3 separate regions of the Homo sapiens genome follow, and all the other regions are linked to region 2. Evidence: promoter capture Hi-C in human tissues and cell types (Jung and others, 2019). All regions are on one chromosome and are shown on one strand. The core of a region is centred on a gene start or on the middle of the fragment in contact, and the rest is flanking DNA. Distances in the headings are between cores, read along the strand shown. Region 1 overlaps DIS3L2 (DIS3 like 3'-5' exoribonuclease 2). Region 2 holds the start of DIS3L2 (DIS3 like 3'-5' exoribonuclease 2). Region 3 overlaps DIS3L2 (DIS3 like 3'-5' exoribonuclease 2).

Region 1 (4,150 bases), core at 1,451-3,950, 110 kb before region 2:
TTGGAAAAGCAGTTTCTTTGAATCTCAATTTCATTATCTTTAAAATGGGGACAAGAGTGTCTAATATCACAAAACTATTGTGGGAACTAAGATAATAAATGAAAAACTCTTAGCACAGGTGCCTGGAACATGGTAGGAGCTTAAGTAAAGTGAAGGATTTAATAATAACAGTACACTCAGTTGGGAGCCTTTACATCCTGAAGAACAACCTGAAGCAAGGGGAAGGGGAAGGAAGGGTCAAAAATAATTGCAAGGTCCTGAACTCAGACAATAGAAACAGAAAAATTAGGAGCAGTTACATATAAGGAAACAAATGTAGCCTTCAGATGACTCGAGAAGTGCAAGATGATGAGGAACATCCAGGTGGCAGCTGGAAATGTAGGTCTGGAGACTAGAAGTGTCTTGGAGGACAGAAATCAGATTAGAGGGTTACCCATAATATGGGTTGACAGTTAAGCAAAGGTGACTCAGGGCCAAGTGTCTACTGAAAAGAGAACCTGAGGATAAAGCCCTTGGGGAAGACTCAAATAATGGGGTTTCAACAAGGAATAGGAGTGAGCAAAGTAGAGAGAATTTAAACATAACTATGGATATGGGAATCACAAGAAACACTGAAGTTTTTATTATGAATCTTCACATTCTATTGCACAATCGTCCCTGTGCTTTTATACACATTAACTGATTGGATCCACCCAATGACCCTGGGTGATGCACAGGAGAATGAGTATCTCCATCTCACAGAGGAGGAAATGACTTCAGACATGTCACAATCTCACAGCTACTAAATGGCAGAGTTGTAATGTGCCTACAGGTCTAGGACTCTAAATGCAATTCTCTTAGTCCTGGACACTGAAGGAAATCATCCACAGGAGTTGAAAACAAAGAGATTCAGAGTGAACCTCACCCATACAGCTCCCATCCCTGACACACATTGCATGAAATGCCTCTGAACCTTTTGTTGGCCTAGCAAATAATCAAAATTCAAGACCCAGCTCTTCTGTGAATGTTTATCTGCTAACTTCTCTCTCTCTGCCTAAATGTTGTTGCCTTCCTCTGCAGCACTGCTAGTCCTTAGCCATTCTTTCACTATACGGTTCCTCGGCCAGGTGTGGTGGCTCAAGCTGTAATCTCAGCACTTTGGGAATCCGAGGCAGGCAGATCACTTGAGCTCAAGAATTCAAGACCAGCCTGGGCAACACGGCAAAACTCCGTCTCTACCAAAAATAAAAAATTAGCCAGGCATGGTGACATGCGCCTGTGGTCCCAGCTACTCGGGAGGCTGAGGAGGAAGGATCATTGGGACCCAGGAAGTCAAGGCTGCAATGAGCTGTGATTGTGTCACTGCTCACGTGGTGAACCTGGGTAACAGAGCGAGATCCTTTCTCAAAAGCAAAAAAAAAAAAAAAAAAAAGGTTCCTTGATGGGGCTATATTTCATTTATTTGTTTGCATATTTTTTCTTCCACTAGACAGTAAACCACATTACATTCATTTTTATATTTCTGAGAGTCTCCCATGATCCATGGCACATAGAATGTGCTCAGTAAATATTGATTCTCTTTTCTCTTCTTCTGAAGAGAATGAGAAAGACTTGAATCAGCTGTAAAAGAAGCATTTGCAAAAAATAGTGAGAAATAAATACTAAGCAGCAAGAGCCAGCTAAATTAAAATGCATGTCCATAAGATACTTCATGATACAGCAATGTCCTCCATTAACACAATGTGTCTGGAAACCAGGAAATAGTCAACAATTATTTCATCAAAATTGAAACTTATCACTGTAAGAGATACAAGATAAATAAATGCAAATGAATAAAATTGGGAGGCACTGAAATAAATTCATTTTTCTAAAATAATTCTATGCCTTTATATCTAAATTATAACTCCAGTTTTCAATATAAATGCAAATATAACCATAAAGTTAACTGCTCCCCAACTTGAAAAGAAGTGTCTTAGCAAGAAAAGTCACAAATGTCCAGATGAAGGAAAGAAAGCCTAGATCTGGCAACACCTCAGAGGGACATTTCCTGATCTTTCCAGAGTTGTGAAGTAGCAATCTGTCACTCAGAAAGCTGGAAATCTCGTCTACGCTGTGTAGTAAGTTAGATCAGTTGCAAACAGCAATTCAAACCTACCAGGATCTAGAGAAGAAACTGGTCACTTCAAAACTGTTTGATGTGCATTAGGTTTTTCTTCCCTTCCTTTTAAAATCAATATACCGTATTTCAAAATTGAAAAGCAAACAGAAAAAGTCCCTGTAACCAAAAAATTCTAATGGAATCCTAAATAAAAGTGCCAGGTAACCTTTCCATTATGCTGGCTCACCCGAACTCCAAGCATGAAACATTTCATAGCTTCCCTGTTTACTGATATAGAAAAAACCTTTCCTCGAGCTCAAAGACCATCATTAAAGAGTGCTGTTTTAAATCTTATAAAAAGAGCAAGTCCATATTAGCACTGGAAAATTCTGTTGCAGCAAATAAACCCTATTACATTCTCCTTAGGCAGGGGGTTGCTATCAACTTGGTATTATGGAGTTTTTCCAAAAGATTCACATATACCCATGTCCACAGACATTTTCCGCGGAAATGGCTTGAGAACTGTGTCCACTGACACTTTGTGCACAGGAAATAATGCCCTGTCCACCCCACTACCTGAGCCTCGGATTCAGAGCTAAAGCATGTCAGGAAGTCCAGCAAAGAGCTGCTTTTCATTTCTTGGCTTCCCTGGCTAGGCTTAAATGACAGCACTCACTTGCCACACATGTTTTAACAAACTTTCAAATCCCTTAATGGCACACTCGGGACAAAGGATAATACACTGTTCAGGAAACACCTTGAAGCCAAGAAAAGCAACTGATATTTCCACAGGGAGCTCTTGACAAGGCTTGCCAATAAGCTTTTCATTATAAAATTTAACTATGGGCACTATCATTTAAAAGACATATTTACAGACATTTTCAAGGGCGTATTTGTTGGGAACTTCGTTTGCTTAGGGTAGCTAATCCAAACGTACCTTTTATCTAGTTAACAGCCAAAGAATGAACAATCTCTCTCCATTCTTCCAATTACTCAGCCCAAAATCCCTGTGCAGTCCTTATCAATCAATCATTCGACTTCCTTCCCCACCCCACCTCAACCTCCCCTTCTCTCAAACACACAGCAACACACACACACACACACACACACACACACACACACCCCACATCCCAACTGTCAGCTGATCTTGTCAGCTCTACCTTCATTGCCACCATCCTGGTTTAGTCTCCATCATCTCCATCCTGGAAGTAAGCAATAGCCATGTAAGGGGTCTCCCTGCTTCTACCCTTGCCTCCTTTCAGTCTATTCCCAACATAACAGAGTGAGCCTATGAAACATAAGTGATATGTCAGTTCTCTACTCCTACCACTCTAAGCCTTACCACTTCAATCAGAGCCAGAAACAGAATCCTACCTATGATGTAAAGGCTCTACCTGACTGCACCCCCACCCCGGATCCCTCCGACCTCGTCTCTGACAATTCTCTACCTCAGCCCCTTTGCTATTCCTTGAGCACACTAGGAACGCACTGCCATTCCCCAAGATCTCCATAAGGACAGCTTCCTCTCTTCCTTTGTTTCTTCCCAAAGTCATGCTCTCAATGAGGTCTTCTTTCATCACCCTATTTAAAATCTCAATCCTTATCCCCCAAAATCATATTTCCTTTCCTTATTTTTTTTCTCTTCAGCACATATCACCATTGAGTATGCTACATGTAGTATTTTATTTAATATTATTATATCTTTCCCAGTGCAACACAAACTCCATGAAGGCCACTGCCACCTGAAACTCAAAACATCAAAAGCACTCTGGTCCTTCCCCTCAAAGCATTTCCCTTTCCTGTTCTTCTCTTTCTTCAAACACCACTACTACTTCTTCCAGGCCACTCAAGCTGAAAACCTTGCAACTACATTTGACTCTTCCCACTGCTTAACATACCAGTCACCAAATCCTTCACTTACCTTTTTACAAGCAATCTTAGAGCTCCACAAATTCCCTGGTCTTCTAAGTGACACCACCCTACAAATCTCCAGAAATAAAAATTCTGATTATCCTCTTATTCAAAAACATTCCCATGGGTTTCTCTTTCCTAGAGAAACTACTTATCAGCCAG
Region 2 (3,830 bases), core at 1,249-3,748:
AGAAAACTCAGAAATAAAGCCACACACCTACAACCATATGATCTTCAACAAACTGACAAAAAACAAATGGAGAAGGGACTCCCTATTCAATAAATGGTGCTGGGATAACTAACTAGCCACATGCAGAAGATATAAAACTGTATATATTTCATGATATACATAATGGGTTAAAGATTTAAATGCAAAGACCTCAGTCAGGCACAGTAGCTCATGCCTGTAATTCCAGCACTTTGGGCAACTGAGGCAGGCAGATCTTTTGAGCCTAGGAGTCAGAGACCAGCCTGACAACATGGTAAAAACCACATCTCCATAAAAAATACAAAAATTAGCCGAACGTGGTAGTGCGCACCTGTAGTCTCAGCTACTCGGGAGGCTGAGGTGGGAGGATCACTTGAGCCTGGGAAATCGAGGCTGCAGTGAGCTGCAGTCACGCTACTGCACTCCAGCCTGGGTGACAGTGAGACCCTGTCTCAAAATAAAATAAAAGACCTCAAGCTATAAAAATCCTAGAAGAAAACCCAGGAAATACACTTCTTGACACTGACCTTGGCAAATTTTTGGCTAAGTCCCCATAAGCAACTGCAGCAAAAACAAAAATTGACAAGTTGGAACTAATTAAACTAGAGCTTCTGCACAGCAAAAGAAATTATCAACAGATTAAACAGACAACCTACAAAATGGGCGAGAATATTCACAAACTATGCATCTGACAAAGGTCCAATATCCAGAATCCCTATGGAACTTAAATCAACAAGCAAAAAACAAATAAGCCCATTTTTAAAAATGGCCAAAGGACATGAACACTTCTCAGAAGAAATACAAAAAGAAAAAACCACGACATACAAGCAGCCAACAAATATATGGAAAACATGATCATGACTAATTATCAGAGAAATGCCAATCAAAACCACAATGAAATACCATCTCACACCAGTCAGAATGGCTATTATCAAAAAGTCAAAAAACAACAGATCCTCATTAGGCTCCCTTGGAAAGGGAACATTTAAACTACTGTTGGTGGGAATGTAAATTAGTTCAGCCACTGTGGAAAGCAGTTTGGAGATTTCTCAAAGAACTTAAAGAGCCACCATTTCACCCAGCAATCCCACTGTTGGGTATATAACCAAAGGAAAACAGACCATTATACCAAAAAGACATATGCAGTTGTATGTTCACGGCTGAGCTATTCACAATAGCAAACACACGGAATCAACCTAGGTGACCATCAATGGTGGACTGGAAAAAAAAAATGTGGATGTACAGGATGGAATACTATGCAGCCACAAAAAAGGAAGATATCATGTCCTTTACAGCAGCACAGATGGAGCTGGAGGCCATAATCCTAAACGAATTAGCACAAGAACAGAAAACTAAACACCACACGTTCTCACTTATAAGTGGGAGCTAAACATTGAGCACACTTACAAGTGGGAGTAGAAACATTGAGCGCACATGGACATAAACATGGGAACAGTCGGCCGGGTGCGGTGGCTCACGCCTGTAATCCTAGCACTTTGGGAGGCCAAGGCGGGCGGATCACGAGGTCAAGAGATCGAGACCATCCTGACTAACATGGTGAAACCCCGTCTCTACTAAAAATACAAAAAAATTAGCCGGGCGGGGTGGCGGGCGCCTGTAGTCCCAGCTACTCGGGAGGCTGAGGCAGAAGAATGGCATGAACCCAGGAGGCGGAGCTTGCAGTGAGCCGAATCGCGCCACTGCACTCCAGCCTGGGCGACAGAATGAGACTCCGTCTCAAAAAAAAAAAAAAAAGGTAACGGTAGACACTGTAGACTACTGGAAGGAGGGGAGAGATGGGGGATGTGGGTTGAAAAACTACCTACTGGGTTCTATGCTCAATACCTGGGTGCAATATACCCATGTGACTAACCTGCATGCGTATCCCCCATATCTAAAAGTTTATTAAAAAAAAAAACTCTCTATGATCAATAAAGGAGATAAAGTGTATCACTGTGGAAAGCGCAAACGTCAAGGACATGTTATAATTAAGCGGCTGCCCTTCAAGATTCCCGAGGCTCCCCATCCCTGCCAGTCCTGAACATCTCGATCAAGACCCTAGAGAACGCGTCCACAGGTGACCCGAGCCTCGGGAGGCGTCCTCTCTACAGCAACAGGCTCTAATTCTGGTCTCGCTCCCCTCACGCCATCCTAGGCTACAAGGGCCCCGGCGCTATAAGCGCGGCCTGGGAGGCCGGGTCGGTCAGGAGCGGAGAGTGGGGAGCTGGGGACATTGAGGGAGATGCGGGACAGGGAAGACGCGTGGGCCGGGGAGCAACGCCAGAGGCGGAAGACGCTCGTCCCGGGCCGCCACCACAGGTGCCGGGCGAAGCGCCGCGGAGCCCCCCAGAGGCCAGACCCCGGGTCGGTCCCGAGGGGGTCGTGCAGCACTAGGCGGTGCAGGGGGCAGGCGAGTGAGGGCCTCACCGTTTCTCCCCGGAGGCCGGCGCCGCCGCAGTCCCGCAGTTGCTAAGGAGAATGCTCTTCCGGGTCACGGGCGCGGCGTTCTAGAGAGCGACGGTGGCCGGGCGAGGCCGAGAGCGAAGCGCGCGGGGTGTGTGCGCGGTGCAGGAGCTCGTAGTCGGCGGTTCAGCTGCGACAAGGGCGAAATGGCCAGGCCAGGGGCCGCCGCGCCTTCTCCGGCCTCGCTCGCGGGGACAACTGGCTGCAACGGTTGGCTCCCAGTGGGCGGCCTCTGAGACGCCTTGTGCCAGGCGCCGGCTGGCTCCGGGCCCCTCTTCCACCGGAAGGAGCCTTCCAGACCCGGCTCCTGAACCTCCAGGCTCTGCTCCACTGGGCCAGGTCTTGCACGGCAGACGCCGCCGGCCCCTTTCCTGTTACAAGGCTTTGCTCATTCTTTCATTTACTCACTGCTCATTTATTGGACAACTGCTTGGGGCGAGGTGCAGTGCTGGCACTGGGGATACAGAGATGGACAACCCCCGCATGGTCCCTGCCCTCAGGATGTGAGGCTGATGGCAGAGCAAGCAGATGACGTCCTGCACGTGGGGATGATCGAAGGAAAGGAGACTAGGGGAGCCTGCCCAAGGGGCCCACCCAGACACGGGTGGGGAGCAGCTGATGTTGGAGACGTCGACCTAGTATAAAGGGTTGGGAAGAGGGTTTCAGGTGAGAGAGGAAGCGCAGCCGAGAAAGCCCCCGACAGTTCAGCCCGCCCAGGGAAGCGTGTTGAGAGGAAACAATCGTTAAGTACGGGACCTAGGAAACACCAATATTGTAGATGTGAGCAAAGGAAAAGGAAATCCAAAGAGCAGCCAGAACGTTCGGGAGAGCACAAGAGGAAAGAATGCCAGTGAGGGGATGGCCGCCATTCTCAAGCTATGGAGATCAAGTGTCCATTGGTGACCATAGAAAAATCAAACTTCCCTTTGGGAGGCCGAGGCGGGCGGATCACCTGAGGTCGGGAGTTCGAGACCAGCCTGATCAACATGGAGAAACCCCGTCCCTATTAAAAATAATAAATTAGCCAGACGTGGTGGCACATGCCTGTAATCCCAGCTACTCAGGAGGCTGAGGCTGGTGAATCGCTTTAACCCCGGAGGCGGAGGTTGCAGTGAGCCGAGATCGCACCATTGCACTCCAGAAAAAAAAAAAGAGAGAGGGAAGGAAAGACGGGAGGGCAGGGCAGGGTAGGGATCAAACTTCGGGAATACAATGTGGACAGATGCTTGAACCACCGTATGCTCCATATTGAAAAAGGAAAAGAGATGCATTAAATTGTGCCTATATTTCTCTTTTTTTTTTTTTTTTTTTTTTTGAGACGGACTATCGCTCTGTCGCCCAGGCTGGAG
Region 3 (4,025 bases), core at 1,189-3,688, 90 kb before region 2:
TGGTTCTATGACAAAAATCATACTTTAAGCATATAATACTATGGCTGGTTGGTTGTTCTTTCCCTAATGAATTTAGAGGTCTCTGCTAAAAGAAAAAAATTTTCCTTTCAAATTAGAAAAAGGTAAAAATCACTTCTGGCTTTTGCATTTGTTAAAATAGTTTCCAAATGTTAAAGTATTATTTAAATCTTCTATGGTTCTTAAATAAAGACAGAATAGGTTTTGAAAATAAGCCTCTATGGATCCATTTTGGCCTAACAGACAATATAAACTTTCTGTATGTTCCATGAGGACAGTACACTATGTTATATTCAATGATATGTTCTCTTATCTGGTACACAGTAGATGTCCAAAATAATATTTGTTGAATGAATTGTCGCATCACTGAAGAAGAAAAGAAACACTGATACTGTCATATTATGATATAATTAAAAAATATAAATGTGTTCTTCATCCCCAGTTCCTAATACAGAGCTCCTAAAAACCCCAGGAATTTTCTTAGTGATGGGGTGAGAGGAGCATCTTTTGTTATTGGTAATAAGCCCTTTTCGAACATACCTCAGTTTATGCTAATGAGGGACTCTTGGAGGATGGGGCCAGCTGCCAGAGAATGAATCATGTGATTAGAGGGTTGGAACTTTCAGCCCCACCCCCTGACCTCCAGAAAGGGACGAGGGGCTGGAGATTGAGTTCAATGGCCAATGATTTAATCAATCATCCCTGTGTAATGTGGCCTCCATAAAAACCATAAATGAGTTCAGAAAGCTTCAGGGTTGGTAAACACAGAGAGGTGCTGGTAGGGTGGAGGACTTCAAGAGGGTGTGGCAGCTCCATGCCCCTCCATAGAGGCACTATGTACCTCTTCATCTGGCTATTCATCTGCATCCTTTGCAATATCCTTTATAATAAACTGGTAAACATAAGTCAATGCTTCCCTGAGTTTTATAAACCATTATAGCAAATTACTGAACCTGAGGGGGCCATGGGAATCCCCAAATAATAGCCAGTCAGAAGTACAGGCAGCCCGGACTGTGACTGGCACCTGGGTAGAGGGCAGTCTTGTGGTATAAGCCCTTAACCTGTGGGGTCTGTGCTAACTCTGCGTAGTGTCAGGATTGAGTTAAAATGTAGGACACCCAATTAGAGTCTGAGGAGAACTGGTTGGTGTGGAAAATCCATGCAGTTGATGTCAGCAGTGTTGAGAGTAGTATAGAAAAACAGTGTTTCCTTTTAGACATGTAAGTATTCTCCTTGCTTTTATTTTAAAAAGTATACTTTTAAACTACTTTTAACATAATAATAAAACTGACACCAACATATTTTCTAAATTCTGTATAGTCTTAACAGAAGTACCTTGAAAATGAAGTTTAGATGTTGTATAAACAAAAACTCAAGTTCAAGAATTTACTCATTTTCTTTGGATTTAGGAACTGACTTTTTATCTGTTACCAGACATTGTCTCCTCATGAATTAAATCAATATGCTCTGGTCTATTTAGAAATAAGCACATGAAGAATGAAAAAGAAATACTATAGTCCAGTCCATCTCACAAAGAAATCTATGTCTGCAACATGCAGTGTTATCAAAGCCCTAGAAGAGTGCCTAACGCAGAACAGGTACTCAACAACAAACGGCACTTGCCATTTTTAACATCATCACATAGTGGGAGTCATTCATAGTAGGTCATGCAAATACCACCCAGAAGAAAACATCAAATGCCACTGGAATGTGAACAGAGACAATATAAAGGGCCCTATAATATGTGAAAAACATCTAAAGATTTTTCAATTCAATAAAACAGCAGCATTGAATAACAATTGTAAAGATATGAAGGAAAGGCTTCCCAGAGGCAACAACCTGTGAAACCAGTCTAGAAAGATGAGTAGGGGAAAGAGGAAGAGACACATGCAGAGAACTGCAAGCAAAGGAAACTGTGTATAAAAAGAAAATGTAAGCATGCAGCTGCATGGTGCATTCAAAGACCTTCTGTATGTGGTGCCCAAGATTAAGGGTATGCTAAAGGAAACAGAGTTGCCCAACAGGGAAGAGGGCAGGTCATGGAAGGCCTTTATGTCATACAAAGGAATAAGAATGTAATTGGTAATAAAAACCTAAAAGACTCCAGTCTGAGCTGGTACTAACTGAGAAATAGTTAAACTACTGTATTTGAGACCCCAAGGAGAAAACAGACCATCCTGGATCAACTGAAATCTACAATCAAGTTTATTTAACTCTGTAAACAAAAAGAAATTAAGAAGGAGGCTGGGCACAGTGGCTCACGCCTGTAATCCCAACATTTTGGGAAGCCGAGGCAGGTGGATCACCTGAGGTCAGGAGTTCGAGACCAGCCTGACCAACACGGCAAAACCCCGTCTCTACTAAAAATACAAAAAATTAGCCAGACATGGTGATGGGCATCTGTAATCCCAGCTACTTGGGAGGCTGAGGCAGGAGAACTGCTTGAACCAGGAGACGGAGGTTGCAGTGAGCCAAAATCGCACCACTGCACTCCAGCCTGGGTGACAGAAGGAAACTCCATCTCAAAAAAAAAAAAGGAAATTAAGATGAAAACAAATCCAAAATCAACTATAAACATTAATGAAGAAACATTATAGAAGACATTTATAAACAATATATCCAATCTTTTATATTTGGGGGGAGAATTATCCAGCTCCCATGTGCAAACATCCAGCAGAGCTGACTTGATTCATTGCTTTGTTTTCTCTTCCAATCAAAGCTAGTTCTTTTTTTTTTTTTTTTTTTTTTTTTTTTGAGACGGAGTCTCGCTCTGTCGCCCAGGCTGGAGTGCAGTGGTGGGATCTCGGCTCACTGCAAGCTCCGCCTCCCGGGTTCACGCCATTCTCCTGCCTCAGCCTCCCAAGTAGCTGGGACTACAGGCGCCCGCCACTACGCCCGGCTAATTTTTTGTATTTTTAGTAGAGACGGTGTTTCACCGTTTTAGCCGGGATGGTCTCGATCTCCTGACCTCGTGATCCGCCCGCCTCGGCCTCCCAAAGTGCTGGGATTACAGGCGTGAGCCACCGCGCCCAGCCGAAGCTAGTTCTTAAGAAAACAAGTTTCTGCTTTGTAAGATCACTAAATTTAGTGAATTCATCCTGTGTTTTTGGTCTTCCTAGTCGTAAAAGTTTACATCACAATAAACAATCCTATCCTTTTTCTGAAGTTTGGAAACACTGAAATTGTTCAAAAAGTATCTATTCCCTGCCTACTGTATGCCAGTTAACAGGTGGCTAGATAGAAGGAAAATGAAAGAATAAAACTCACGTTTTAAAAGTACCTACTACTTGTCAGACACTATTTTAGGTGATTACAGTTCATTAATCCTTATCAAAAACTTATACCATTTATAGGTGAGGCCCCTAAAGCCCAGAGCCAGTAAACAAAGGATCTAGAATGGAGACCCCAATCTAACTTGAAAGGTTCCTGTTGTTACCTTAACACCATGAATATAAATAAAATAAGACAAAACCCCTGCCCTTACCAGTTGAGACTTGGGAGGAATGCATGCGTCTCTTCCTTTAAACATACAGTTCCCTTGCCTTAAATATTCTCCTCTCCCCTTAATTTTCATTTCGCAAACTCTCCTTTCCAACTGCAATTGAAATGTCACTCTTACAAGAAATTTAAGTTCCCTTAGGCAGAGCCATTGTCTCCCACTCCATACACCTCCTTCATCTCTGTGCTCAGATCTCTGTTAAAACATATCACACAGCAATGTGGCTCTCTGTCTACACATCTGATTTCTGCAATGGTCTCCAAATTCATCGAGGGTAGTCAAAGTGTGTTCATCTTTGTATCTCCAGGACCCATGCCAGTGCCACGTACAAAGCTGCCAATCAAAAAATGTCGAATAAACAAATGGATGGTGGAAATCCTCCAAATAAAAGTGTCAGTTTAAACTAGGAAACTACATAAAGATCTATCTGGAAAAGAACGTAAAGAAAGAAAAGAGGACATAGGCTAGAAGCTTAAGAAATGTCTACAACCGGCCGGGTGCAGTGGCT

The links. Contacts are between HindIII fragments. The study calls those that stand out against the background at their distance.
Region 1: a contact is called between a fragment that was not itself captured here and the fragment with the promoter of DIS3L2 in region 2, in 4 of the 25 tissues and cell types used here (aorta, hippocampus, lymphoblastoid cells and 1 more).
Region 3: a contact is called between a fragment that was not itself captured here and the fragment with the promoter of DIS3L2 in region 2, in 2 of the 25 tissues and cell types used here (bladder and mesenchymal stem cells).

The regions. Positions count from the first base shown.
Region 1 is chr2:232,071,833-232,075,982 of GRCh38, reverse strand. All of the region lies in intron 5 of DIS3L2 (DIS3 like 3'-5' exoribonuclease 2), which reads right to left. Among named protein-coding and RNA genes, the nearest start is that of MIR562, 99 kb to the left of the region's middle. RefSeq lists a silencer at 317-517. The HindIII fragment of the contact is 9,302 bases long and covers 1-4,150 here.
Region 2 is chr2:231,960,381-231,964,210 of GRCh38, reverse strand. It overlaps DIS3L2 (DIS3 like 3'-5' exoribonuclease 2), which reads right to left and starts at 2,498. Exons shown (of 21, transcript NM_152383.5): 1 at 2,446-2,498. RefSeq lists a silencer at 2,241-2,400 and an enhancer at 2,531-2,620. The HindIII fragment of the contact is 18,963 bases long and covers 1-3,830 here.
Region 3 is chr2:232,050,559-232,054,583 of GRCh38, reverse strand. All of the region lies in intron 5 of DIS3L2 (DIS3 like 3'-5' exoribonuclease 2), which reads right to left. Among named protein-coding and RNA genes, the nearest start is that of DIS3L2, 91 kb to the right of the region's middle. The HindIII fragment of the contact is 4,683 bases long and covers 97-4,025 here.